3 separate regions of the Homo sapiens genome follow, and all the other regions are linked to region 2. The links are contacts of gene promoters, found by promoter capture Hi-C in blood cells and fetal thymus (Javierre and others, 2016). All regions are on one chromosome and are shown on one strand. Each heading gives the region's core, a stretch centred on a gene start or on the middle of the fragment in contact. The rest is flanking DNA. Distances are from core to core; before and after follow the strand shown. Region 1 has its middle 9.9 kb from the start of TBX21. Region 2 holds the start of OSBPL7 (oxysterol binding protein like 7). Region 3 overlaps TBKBP1 (TBK1 binding protein 1).

Region 1 (4,288 bases), core at 763-3,262, 99 kb before region 2:
GGAGGGGGAAGGGAGAGGAAGGCAGGGTCGCCCCACCCCCACCCCGTGCCCGTGCCTACCGAGTGCCGCCTCCCGGTGGCTGGTGAGGTCTCTGCCCCCTTGACTTTTCCCTGCTTCGAGGAAACACCTCCCTTTAGGGGAAAGCGAGATGGTGAGGGGAAGGAGGGGAAGCACTGACTCTCGGCAGAGGCATGAGCCTGATTTTCCAGTCCGGGGAGGGGCGGAGGGAGATGGCACTGGGGACGCCCGGGCGATGGGGCCTGACTCAGAGCCAGAACCACAGGGCTCCTCCGCTGTATTGTCGTCGGGGAACTAGAAGCCACCAGGTTTATAAGAAACTGCAATTCATCTCTGCCCTCTTCCACCCCTCTGCAAGGGATCAAGGTTAGACTAGAAGAAGAACTTATAGCCCGGGGCAAGAAAGGGACTCTGCCTCAGGTGATTTTTTTGGAAGCCTTCCCTGGGTTTCTTCGAGAAGAAGGGCCTGCCCCAAGGGGGTTAGATCGTAAGAAGAGCCTGGGGCCAGGGCGTGGGGCCCCCCATTTCCCTGTTTGTTGTCAAGGAAAGCCCCCTCCTCACTTCCAGCCCGGAACAGGAGCTCCTAAGAGCTGTCGACAGAGCTACTGCTGAGGCTGCGGCAGGGGCATACAGGGATCCCCAGAATCCCAGGCAGTCTGGCTGGCATGGAGGGGATGAGGCAGCTGGTGGCTCCACTTGGCTCTGCTGCCTCACTCTTGGCCACTGGCTCACGTGTCCCAAGGTGAAAAGCAAGAGGGAGGAGAGTGCAGGTTCGATTAGCAGGAGGGCAGAGCAGAAGGTGTGATGAACTTAGGCGTGGGCAGAAAGACGGAAGCACTGCCTGGCAGGGCACATGCCCAGTGGCATTCTCTTCCCATTCTAGGAGCTGCCCAGGCCCCTTCCCTCCTCAGGCAGAAACACCTAACAGCTTGGATGGCTGGCAGTGGGCTCCGTTGCCTGGGGCAGGGAGTTTGGAGAAGTGAGGAAGGCTCCTGCCTCTCACTCCACCTGGAAACCAGGACTCCTGGGTCCTTCCCATCTGGACTCATCTTCCTCCACTGCCACAGTGGCTGCTGTGTGACGAAGCTAGTCCCTGCCCCTTTCGGTCTCTCAGCCCTGCTTCCCCACTCCTACCCCATCAGCAGGATGGGATTTGCTGAGTAACGGGGTCGGGTTCTGCAGGGTCATCAGACAGAAAGGACACCAGGAGAGGTGAGAAGAGGCCTGGGTTGAGGGAAGGGTAATGTCAATTAGGACACCAGGATGACTTCCCAAAACATAGGGGAACACTCACTGGGTGACATAGAGGGCCCTTCCATCTTGCCTTTCTCCAGAGGGAATAAGGAGAAGGACTCAGCCCGGGTTGGGTTGGGTACCTTATAAGGAGAGAGGGTCAGGGGATAAAAATAACTGAGAGCCTGGGAAAATTGTGTCACCTCTCTGAGCACCAGCTTCTCATCTGCAAAATGGGAACGATAGTGTCCTCTTCACACAGGTGTGGGAGGCTCCACTCAGGAAAGTGCACAGTAAGTGTTCATTAGGTCACCAGCCATGTGATCTTGACAAGGTATTTAACTTTTCTTTTTTTTTTTGAGACAGAATCTCTGTCTGTTGCCCAGGCTGGAGAGCAATGGCACGATCTCGGCTCAGTGCAGCCTCTGCCTCCTGGGTTCAAGCAATTATCCTGTCTCAGCCTCTTAGTATCTGGGATTACAGGCATGTGCCATCACGCCCGGCTAATTTTTGTGTTTTTAGTAGAGATGGAGTTTCACCATATTGGCCAGGCTGATCTCGAACTCCTGACCTCCAGTGATACACCCATCTCAGCCTCCCAAAGTGCTGGGATTACAGGCATGAGCCACTGTGCCCAGCTGGTACTTAACTTTTTTTTTTTTGAGATGGAGTCTCGCTCTGTCACCAGGCTGTAGTGCAGTGGCACAATCCCAGATCACTGCAACCTCCAACTCCCTCGTTCAAGCAATTCTCCTGCCTCAGCCTCCTGAGTAGCTGGGACTACAGGCGCGTGCCACCACACCAGGTAATTTTTGTATTTTTAGTAGAGACGGGGTTTCACCATGTTGGCCAGGATGGTCTCAATCTCCTGACCCTGTGATCCTCCCGCCTCGGCCTCCCAAAGTGCTGGGATTACAGACATGAGCCACTGTGCCTGGCTGATACTTAACTTTTTTATATCTCAGTTTCCTTGTCTGTAAAATGGGAACAATGGTTCCCACCCAGTTGCCTTCACACCATTGTGAAGTCTAATGAAATCAAAGGTATATTGACTAGTCTTAACCAAAAAAAAAAAAAAAAAAAAGAAGAGAGAGAGAGAGAAAGAAAGAAAGGAAATAAAGGGTACGAGTTGCCTGGGGATGTTCTTTTTTTTTTTTTTTTTGACAGTCTCTCTCTGTTGCCCAGGCTGGAGTGCAGTGGTACAGCCTCAGCTCACTGCAACCTCCGCCTCCCGGGTCCAAGCAATTCTCCTGCCTCAGCCTCCCTAGTAGGTGGGATTACAGGCACCTACCACCACGACCAGATAGGTTTTTTTGTATTTTTAGTAGAGATGGGGTTTCACCATGTTGGTCAGGCTGGTTTCGAACTCCTGATCTCAAGTGATCTGCCCACTTCGGCCTCCCAAAGTGCTAGGATTACAGGCATGAGCCACTATGCCTGGCCGGGATATTCTCTTATCTCATCCTTTACCCCTCAACCCAGAGTGGTGATAGGAGGAGGGGGTTAATTAGGAAGAACTGGGGTTTTTACAGTTTCCAAACTCACTGGGAGTCAAGGATTGAGACAAAGTACAAGCTAGATTTGGCAACATCCAGGGTCATGCATGGGAACCTGGGAGCCCCATGCCCCACTGCCTATTTGCAGGGCCCTGGGTCTTGGGTGGCCCTAGTTCAGTGTGTGCATGTGTGTGAAATGCAAGGTGATGAGGTCAGTATCTCAACTCCCAGTTACTGGTCCAGTTGCTAAGAACTTGCCTGACCATAACCATCCTTTCCCAACTCACAGAATGTCAGGTTCTGATGCCAGTGATTGGAAAGAAATGGCGGTGAGCAAGGAGAGGGGGCAATGCTGGGCAGCCATGCCACCTTTATGTCCCCTGTGGCCAGAGACGTGGGTCCAGGGCCCTTCTCAGTGCCCAGCTCGGTCCAGCCAGCTGCCCATGGCCCTGGTGGGAGGAGGTAGGCTGGACGCCTTCTGACACTTCCTGGGTAACTGAGCGGGGCAAGCAGCAAACAGCAGGCTCCTGGGGAAATCTCAGACTTGTGTGTCAGAGCGGATCTGTGTCTGGGGTGGTAAGTGGGGTTAAACTCAAGGTCAGACCTAGCCAATCCATTTTCGCGCCAACATGGCCTTGGGTGTCCTCCATTCCAGTGGCTGGGACCCAGGTGCCCACTCAGCTGGAGACAGCACTGCTGGGAGCCTAATGCCTGGTTTGTCCCTCTGCTTCACACACTGGTTGCTTGCCTGATTTCTGCCTGTGCCTAGGATTTATAAGGAAGGGAGTTGTGGCATGTGGATCCCAGGCCTCCGTTCTACTCCCAAATTTCAGGTGCTAATCTCTCCATGAGTTTCAGTGACCTCAGAAAAGGAAATGGGATTAAGCTGCAATTTAAGGGGTTGTGGGAAGACAGCTGAAAGAATGTCCCAGTCTTCAGTAGAGGAGGTGGGAGGTGGCTGTAAACTGCCTAAATCGGGGGAACACTACCAGGAATCTCAAATTGCTGTACAATGCAGACACAGTCAATCAGCCTCCACCTACTTAGATCTCTAAGTGCTTAGAGATCACCAACCTGTCCCAGGCTCCTGAGTCTATTACCTCACTCCTCCTTGTTCTCTGCCTTTCCCAGGCTACTGTGGTTATGATTTGTGGCAGAAGTTGGGAAGGCAGAAAAGGAGAGAAGGAGGGAAAAGGACAATCTGAGAACAAGCTGGAGGGCCAAAGTGGACCCCTTGCAGAGTTGGCAAGATGGCAAAGGGGATGCAGTGGCAGGTGAATTAGTTCAGATGGGCAAGAAATGTAGGATAAGTCAGCAAGCTGCCTTTGCGCAGGAGATCCCTAGGTGAGAAGGTAAGAAGGGCTTCCACATGCGGCAGTAGCCTCAGTGTTTCTGGAATGGAGTTTGTATATATGTTGTGGGTGGGGTAGGGGGAACAGAAGAAGAGCTGCAGCATCCTGCCTTTGAGGAGGAAGATGGTACAACAGGAAGGCCAGGAGGTGGGCTGCAGGTAAAATGTCCCCGTGAGACAGGGTTGAGGG
Region 2 (4,228 bases), core at 1,094-3,593:
AAGCCCCCATTTCTTGGGCACTTATTCTGCCCTGTCCAGAGAGCCTTGTACGTATGACCTCCCTTACCATGACAGCTCTGCACCTGGGGGATGGTGCTCTCCCATTAGAGGTGAGGAAGCTATGGCCCAGGGATGTAACTTGCCCGAGATCACACATTCAGCAAGTGGTGGACCTGGGATTCAGACCCTGCTCTGGTCGATTCCAGATACCCCATGCCTGCCCAGGGCATACTGGGGCCAGACTCCTCCCACAACCCCAAGCCACTGCCCGGGCTCACGTCTTGCCGGGTTGTTGCATAATGAAGGATCCCGTCCTCGAGCACAAAGTATCTCTGTGATGTTGCCCAGGAGTGACAGGACCCGGGAGGCCGAGAGGAAGGGCATGAGGGAGAAGGCAACCACACAAATTAGCTTTTCTTTTCCTTCTCATCATGCAAACACCATTGGACTGCCCAGCAGCTGCCCCCCATTCCCACCCCGCCCCCCATGTCTGGACCCTCCCTTTGCCTGCCCACCCTACCTTGTGCCAGCCCTTCAGAGGCCACTTCCTCTTCTTGAGCAGGTGACCTTCCTGCCTCTCAGGCATGACACCCTCTGTCCCCAGCCTGACCCGAGGCTCCTCCACCACCTCCCACAGCTCAGAGGCCTGCAGTCCAGGACAGAGGGAGGGGAGCACTGGTGAGACGTCCGCCTTGGCCCCTCCCTGTCTGGTTCCAGCTTGGCCCACCCACCACCGCTTTCCCACTCTCTGACCTGCTGAGCACTGCTGGGCTTTGAGGACTGAGCGCTCTCAGGCAGGAAGGGCGGGTCCCTCTCTTGGAAGTCCATGGAGAAGGGAGAGGCCACTCCCTGCTGGGGATGTAGAGCAGGGAGCAGGGTGGAAGGGGAAGGATGTCACCTGCTCCTGACGGGGTCCTTGAAGCAAGAGAAAGACCCCCTTAACGCAAACTCTGCTATCACCTTCCCCACCTCCAGCCCCTCCCACACCCTCTGAGATAAGGGCTCCCCAACATACCCTCTGCTCACCTGCCAAGCCTCTCCCAAGTCTGCCCCTCTGTCCCGACCCCACCCATTTTCACCTGATATGGACACTGCCCTGAGAGTGAACTAGCACACAGCAGACGGGCAGGTGCCCAGGGAAAACCACAAGACATATGCCCAGCCCCGCCTTGGGCACATACTCTGGGGCTCCAAGAAACATTCAGTGCTTTCTTTAGAGGCTTCCCTGGGAGTGCTCAGAGGTGAAGCAAGGGAGTGACAGAAGAGGCTCCAAGAAGAGACAGAGGGGTTCAGAGACTGGACAAGCGAGACCTCCTCAATCCAGCTGCCTCTGCCTTCAGGACCCCTCCACCCTGCCACCGTAGCTCAGAGACTTCTCTGCCATGATCTTGCAGAAAACTCCCCAGCCTCCCACCAATTAATCTCCATATTATCTAGTGCTTGGAGAAACTGAGGCCTGAGATAGCCCCCATTTTCCCATGTCTCCTCCCACCAAACATGCCCCTAGGATGCCCTTTTTGGACCCTCAGTACCCCCTAAAGCCTCACCATCCCCTGTCTACCCTCACAGTCCTTGGGGCTCTGAGAAGTGCCACCCACCCAGAGAGGGCAGGACATTGGGCTAAAGGAGATACTTCATGAGAGAAGAGGGGGCCCAGGACATGCCCAGGTCTGCACAGGTCCTGCAGCAGTGCCCACAGGCACCCTTGGCACTGGCCCTGGCCATCCTGGCTCCACCGGGAGATCAATAATGCATGAGGCTCTGCATGTGTGAGACGGGGGAGGGGACTGGAGGGGCGAGGCTGGTTTGAGGTGGGGGAAGCAGCCCAGATCTTCTAATGGAGCTAGCAAGCACCTGAGGAACTGAGGCCCAGAGGGGACAGGGATGTGGCAGGAACGGGTGCCCAGGAGGTTGGGGCAGAGGGACCCTTGCTGCAAGAGGCTGACCTGGGAGGAAACTCCTGCATTCAGCCATTGAAAGTTCTCAAACTCTTCCGGTGTTCAGGTATCTCTGGGCCCTTCTCCCGGCCCTGTGGGGATCCTGGCCCCTCACTGCTTGTGGGTAGAGGGGGAGGCTCTATCGGTAGGCAGGTGAAGGGTCTAGGTGAGCCAGGTGGGTGCCCCCTCTCCACCTCTATTCAGGAGCAGACCCACCAGCTTCAGGTGGGAGGAAGCTCTTCTCAGGAATGTCAGCTGCTGCCACGCAGCCCCCTTACCCCAGGGTCCATGGACGCCAGTACTCCTTGGCCCTTGCGCCGCTCTGCCTCTGAGTCACCGTCTCCGAGTCACCGGCTCCCTCCTCACCGCGCTGAGCAGTGGCAGCAGCTGCTGCAGGAACCAGGAAGGAAGGAGATGTCAGAGCCTCCCCTCTAGCCGGATCTCCCCACCTCCCTCTCCCCTGTCCCCTCCTCCCGCCAAGCTCCGGGCAGCCGCTCAGCTCTGCCCCCCTGCTCCCCGGAGGACTCAGGGCTGAGCAGACTGCCCTAGCATCGATGTGGCTTGGGAGTGGGGGCACAGTCCCTGCTGGGCATGGTTCCAGATAGATCAGAGGACTGGGGAACTGTTGGCTGTACGCCAGTGGTGATAAAGGATTTATTCAGACTAGCATGGCAGTGACCCTGTTAGTACCCAAGGCCAATTCCTAATTAACCCCCGCCCCCCGCCTCTCATTTTACATCTGAAAATAGACTGCAAAATTTGGAGCCAGCAAAAGTATCAGGTTGATGGTGGAGGGACAGATGCCCCCTCTGGGACCATAAGAGAGTGCCAAGAGCACAGTCAGCAGGGGCAGTCAAGCCAGGAAAGGGACAGCCAGCAGTCCCCACACTGAGGCCCTTCACTGGGGTGATGCCCCACTAGGTCAGGCCCCATGGAGATCTGAAAGTGCTTGTGTGTATGAAGACACCCCACAGCCTGCAGTCTCTGATCAGGAGCAGGCCTGGGGCAGTCACAGCTGCCGTTAAAAGGGCTGCAATGCTGGTCCCCTCCCTTCCCTTTACCCTTCTGCTGGAGTACTGTGCCCAGCTGCTCAATTCTAATGAAAAATCGGCTCTTAACAAAGATCTAAAATTCATTCAAATGAATGTGGCATAGACCTACAGTTTCAAGCGCAGCTAAGTTTTCTGGAAAGAAGTAGGTGGGGCCTCAGGTGAAGGATGTGATTCAAGTTTCTTCTCTGACCCCAAAAGTGACATGGGCCACTTATCCCTTCCACTTCATCCTCACCGAGCTTGGTTTACGTTTCAGGGTCTCACATATCTCTCGGGAACACCCACTGTCTTGCCTTTATTCAGAGCCTCAGTGCTGCTCCAGCCACCCCAGGAGGAGGGTGTTGTTAGCACCTGGCAGGGTTCTGGGAGGGACAGGAGCACTGGGCAGCACTGACCAGACAAGCTCTGGCATCCAGGAGCCTCAAGGGCCTTTTAAGCCACTTCCCAGTGATTGAACATCCCTGGGCATACAGCACAGGATGAGGCACTGGGGGAAGCTGGTCCTGGCCCAGGCCACAAAAGAGCTGCTGCAGGTCATCCCTGCCAGACAGTGCCTGTCCAAGACTAAGGAAGCGGTGGCATTGCTTCAAGTCCGAGAAGGAATGTTGAACAGCCACCTTCCCCGGGTCACCCCTGCATCCACCCAGAATGTGCTCCAGTCAAGGATGATGGTGGACTCTGAGTTAAGCATCCCGTCTCCTTTATTAGGAATTTCTGGTTCATGAAGACTTGCATGAGGCCTCCTACCCTAGAGCTCTCAGAATTCCCCATTAATAGAGAATCCTAGTTTTCCCGCAGGCCTTTTGTCCAGAACCACCAGAGACACGTTAGCTAGTGGGTACAGCTGTCAGCTGCCTTTAATAGGGCAAGCATGCGCGGGATGCCATTTGTGGGAACAGGTATAGGGGAAGAGGATTTTCCTAGGAAGGGAAGCAAGAGTGAGGAAAGTCAGATGACAGAGAAGCCCCTGAGAGTAAGTTTAGAGGGAGGACAACCGTGTAAACCACAAAATAAAGGAAGTAGAATATATTTCATTTTATTATAAAGCAGTGCTCCCAAACTTTTCACAGCGTACACCTCGAGGGTGGAGAACTAACATCCAAGCACACCTGGATGGTGGATGGGACCCACTTCTGGGTAACCTGATGAGGAAGCTCTAGTGAAGAAATTCAGGACGCGGTCTTCAGAGCAGAGGGCTTGGTTCAAGTCCCTGTTCTGCCACTTACTAACTGCATGACC
Region 3 (4,642 bases), core at 595-3,094, 120 kb before region 2:
GAGACCCCCGCATACCCTGAGCGTAGCCTCATGCCCCAGAACCAGCAGGCCCAGGGCCTCCCCCTTCACGCTTCTCACCCTCCCTACTTCCTTTCTTTCAAGTCTCCTTCGGCCAGGGCACCCGCGCTGCACTCACAGGAGTTAACCCCTGAGCACTTGCAGCCTCGGGGGCTCCCAGAGGCTAGGTGGGTCTGAGGGATGTGTGGGCTTTCAGCCCCAGTCCTTGGTGCTTTGCCTGCCAGCAGGGTGGGGAGCAGCTCATGCCAGCGCCCCCTCCCTCGATGGGAAACGCCCATCTTCCCTCCTTAAACCGAAGCCACTAGGCTGCTGTCTCCAAAAAAAGGCTCAAAACAAGTTTCCCCCCTTCTCCACCTATCTGCTAGGCACTCCCCTGAAATTTTTTTTTTTTTTTGTCCATGCCAGACACTATGCGAGGTGATTTACCTACAAAATCTCATTTCATTCTCACAAACGTGATGTAGGTATTGTCCCCCTTTTACAGATGAGCAAACTGAGGTGCAGGGAAGTGAAGTAATCTGAGAGTTCAGTAAGAAATTCAGTGCAGATGCCAAGTGGGTCCTGAGCAGATCGGGTGATGGCACCTCTGCGGTGTGTTTCTGGTTCAGGTTCTTCTTCAGGTAGAAAGCCCTTATATGAGGGGCAACCGTGTGATTTGTTGACCAGACTGGATCACTTTTGAAAGTGAAAGGGGGCACTATTAATAATTATGCTGGGGCAACTAGCGTGAACTGGGACAGTCCTAGGCAAACTGGGATCTCTGGGCACCCCACCTATGTAGGAACCCTGGTTTCCAGGCCTACCCCTGAGCTGCTCCAATCAGCTGCATCTGGGAAGCTTTCTAGACCCGGGATGTCAGCTCTGGTGGATTCGTGGCAGGGGCTGCCATGAAGAGCCAGGCTCTGGGGACCCCACCAGTCATAGCTGGTCGAGGAGAGAGAAGGGGCTCAAGGCGCCCGAAAGGAAGTGGTGGAGCACTGGGTTGTTGCAAAGCAACTTCCTCCTCCCCGCCGGCCCGCAACCTCAAGTCCGTTCCACGGCCCGGTGCCTGTGGTCCCCTCCCCGAGGGTCGGGCGGGAAGACTGATGCTGGGTGTGCCTGTGGGTGGTGGAAAGTTTGGTCCCTAAATTATCCCACAGGGGTGAGGTGGCTGGGGCAGCTGGGGGCAGCTTTGAGCAAGGATGGAAGGGCCCTGGAAGGTTGGATTTCTGTTTTCCTCCCAATTCTGAATCAGACGATGATTCTGACCACATGGACAGCTCTAAACCTAACCCTAATCCTAACCCTTTTACTGCTCCCGTCCCTGACTCTAACCCTATCCCTGATCCTGACCTTCAGCTCTGTCCACAATCTTGGCCACGTGCTACATCAACCCCACTCCTAGTCTGACCCTGGCTCCTTTAATCCTGTCCTCAAGGCAGTCCCCAGCTTTATCGTTTCCAGAAGTGTGTGAGATCTGTGAATTATTCGTGGAAAGACTGAATGAAAGGATGCGAAGCGTGGAATATTTGCAGCCCAGGGGGCCCTCCTTCCTGCCAGCTCTGCCATTTGCTCTCTGGCTCCTCCGAAGTTGCCAGCTTGGCAGGCTGAGGTGCCAAGAACCTGTGTTTGAATCTGCTGTGTGCCACTGCCACTCTGTGACCTTGAGCCAGCCTCTTAATCGCCCTGATTTTCTACTTCCACATGTGTCTAGCACCTTCCTATCACCCCCAGGGAAGGGGTGGTGATTCTCAGGGCTTCCAGGCCACTGCCAAGGTCCCCAGTCCCCTCCTCCTCTTCGTCTTTCCCTTCTGTTGCTGCCTTGCCTTTCCTCTCCCCTCCTTCCCGCTTCTTTGGGGGACGTTATAGCATGATGGTCAGTAGCCTGGACTTTGGAGTCTAGGGGGCAGAGCTCCCATCCCAGCAACTCCATTGCTAGTAGGCTTTATGATTTTGGTCAAGTAACTTAACCTCTGTAAGCCTCAGTTTTCTCATCTGTAAAATGAAGGTAACAGTGGCAATGCCGTAGGGTTGTTGTGGAGATGAATAAAGTTCTCAGCAGAGTGCCTGGCCCCGGGGTGAGCACTCAAACAGATCATCCGATTCTTTTCTCTCTGGGTGCCTCCCAGGTTTTGAAAGACTCAGAACTTTCTCCTGTCATGTAAGCAATAAAGCAGCATCCAAATGCAGCCATCTGCTGCCACTTACCTGACCCATTCTTCCCAAGCAGTCATGATGGTGAAAAAGCACTCAGGTGTGGGCCAGGAAGCCAGGAAATGGAATGTGTATTTCGGTGCACGTGTGCAACTCTTGGTTGTGTTGTGAAGTTGAGATTTTTTTTTCCACTGAATTGGCAGTGTTTTCAGTGAGTCATTCAGGTCGTTAGCATCTTCAGCGGCCCAGGCCTGTGCATCTTGAGATGGAGAGAGACACCCAATGAAGGGGGAGGTCCCAAAAGGCCATGGGGCATCAGGAGGAGGTCAAGTCAATCACCTTGCCGGGGACTTAGCAGTCTTTGTGAGGGTTGCCTGAAGTTCTGGGTGGACAGAACCCACCTGCCTCAGGCCCCAGGTGGCAGAGCTGGGAGAGGGGCTGGGCATTGTGGGCCAGGGCTTCTTCCTTCCATTTTCAGCCACCCTGTCTGTTTCACTGTGAGAAGGATGCCAGGGGCTGGGTGGTAGAAACTGGGGTAGCTCCTGACAAGGGGAGGGAGGCAAGCAGGGGAGTGACAGGGACCTGGGAACTGAGTGTGGCAGGTGAAATCTCTGAGGCGGGGTGTGAAGACGACGACCTGTATCTGTCGCCTGAGATACAGCAGTGAAAATGGATGGTGAGAGAAGCTTTGGCTATGTGGACAGAGGACCACACTCTGTCTGTGCCCTGCCCAGAGCCCTCTCCTTCCCCTGCTGCCAAGGAGATAGCACGATCCTGCCCTCCAAAAACCGCCAGTCTGATGGGGGACACACAGCTCCTGCCCACAGATGTCCTCAGTCTGAAGGGGAAGCCTTCCCTTGGGGAGTCCCCAATTTGACGTGGGACACACCTGGACCTCCCAGTCTGATGGGGGAGATGCCATTTCTTCCCACAGACCCATGAGCTGAGGATGAGGGGGCACAGGACACATTTAACAAAAACAAGGGCTGAGATGTGATGGGATGGAGGCTGCAGGGTCTCAGCAGCAGCTTCTGGGACTCCTTCCTCTCTGCCTGCCCAGCCCTGCTCACCATCAGATGGGTGGCGAGGACTCCCTCCCTAAGAAGAGGGCTGTCTCCCAGAGACCTGGCCCATTTGCAGTAATTTGGCTTTGGCCCAAGTGGGTTAAAAATAGTCTTGTGGGAGGGGCAGTTTCTGCCCCAGGATTAGTAAGAGACAGCCAGTGAGCGACAGCAGGGAGCCTAGTCATTATCTACCCTCTCCACCTCTCTTTTCCTGCCCTCTGAAGCCCTAACCTCACGACTTCCCCTCCTCTCCTTTAGGGTTAGACTTAGACACACACACACACACACACACACACACACACACACACACACGCACACACCCCTACGCTCATTCACGCCTTTCCTCATTCATCAGCCTGGCCTCACACCTCTCTTCACACTCTCCCATCCACATGTCCATCACTATGGGATGGGGACAGGGCCCTCCAGGCTTAAGAACTTGAGCCCCCTTGTCCTGGGACAAGACCTCCCCTGGGAAGAGATCTGTGTGGAGTGACACCTGGTATTTTCTCCCAGCTCCATCTTCCACTAAGTTCCCCGAGTCCCTTCTGGAGCTGGAGGTGGGGAGAGCCAAAGAAACCTAAATCTCTGCCTTCAGGGAGATTCAAGGCTCTGTCCACACTCAGAACAGTGATGAAGGCAGGGCCCAAGGGCATGGCAGAGCTTCCCATGAGGTCAGGGAGGGCTCCTGGGGCCGTGCAGGCCACAGTGGGAGAAAGCAGAGAGCAGTGGAGTGATGACCTTCCATGGTTCTGGGTTGCAAGTGACCTAGAGATAAAGGAAGTGGGTGAGGTTCCTTGCCAAGTCTGTTCCAGCTCCATGAGGGTGGGTGCCCAAGATGCCTGAACAGGAAGCAGGGAGGAAGAAAGGGAAGGAGAAAGAAAAATGGAGGGAGAGGCTCAAATGCATTATCCACTTACTGAACATCTGCTGGGTTCCAGGCCCTGGACAAGGTGGTGGGAATATAAATACAATGACGTAATCCTCACCATCAAGAAACTTCCCATAAAGTTCTAGAACAAGGCAGCCTTTGAGAAGTGCCTGGTGTGACTGGCACTCACTGCAAGTGTGCAGTGTACAGCAGCTGTTCACAAAGATCTCAGTGTTAAGGCCCTGGTGGAGTTGTACAGCAAGGAGGTCCTGGGAGGGGCAAAGCTGAAAAGAGCCCAGAGGCAGCTTTGAGGTCGAGCCAGGTGCAGTGGACATGGAATTGGGCTGGCTTGGGGTTAAGTTTATCAGTTAGCACCTCCACCAGCCAGGAAACCATCTTCACTTATGGAACGAGCTATTCTATGCAGCAGGGTCCCCAACCTTTTCAAAGGTGAGGACTCTTCATGGATCCCACTCCCAGTACACAGATTATAACACTTTTAGTATGCATTGCTTGAGAAAATTCACAGTGACAGAAGCTACTATAAATTCAGTAC

Evidence for each region. The method cuts DNA at HindIII sites, captures the fragments that hold promoters and counts their contacts. A CHiCAGO score of 5 or more calls a contact.
Region 1: a contact is called between a fragment that was not itself captured here and the fragment with the promoter of OSBPL7 in region 2, in 1 of 17 cell types (M1 macrophages). The highest score is 5.1, in M1 macrophages.
Region 3: a contact is called between a fragment that was not itself captured here and the fragment with the promoter of OSBPL7 in region 2, in 2 of 17 cell types (M1 macrophages and M0 macrophages). The highest score is 7.0, in M1 macrophages.

Annotation. Positions count from the first base shown.
Region 1 is chr17:47,721,154-47,725,441 of GRCh38, forward strand. No RefSeq gene overlaps it. Among named protein-coding and RNA genes, the nearest start is that of TBX21, 9.9 kb to the right of the region's middle. The HindIII fragment of the contact is 8,318 bases long and covers 1-4,288 here.
Region 2 is chr17:47,819,451-47,823,678 of GRCh38, forward strand. It overlaps OSBPL7 (oxysterol binding protein like 7), which reads right to left and starts at 2,344. Exons shown (of 23, transcript NM_145798.3): 1 at 2,216-2,344; 2 at 754-915; 3 at 521-646; 4 at 279-332. The coding sequence starts at 828. It overlaps MRPL10 (mitochondrial ribosomal protein L10), which reads right to left. Exons shown (of 5, transcript NM_145255.4): 5 at 3,822-4,228. RefSeq lists a silencer at 2,307-2,522 and an enhancer at 2,633-2,802. The HindIII fragment of the contact is 20,101 bases long and covers 1-4,228 here.
Region 3 is chr17:47,703,344-47,707,985 of GRCh38, forward strand. All of the region lies in intron 7 of TBKBP1 (TBK1 binding protein 1), which reads left to right. Among named protein-coding and RNA genes, the nearest start is that of TBKBP1, 12 kb to the left of the region's middle. RefSeq lists a silencer at 961-1,060. The HindIII fragment of the contact is 1,982 bases long and covers 854-2,835 here.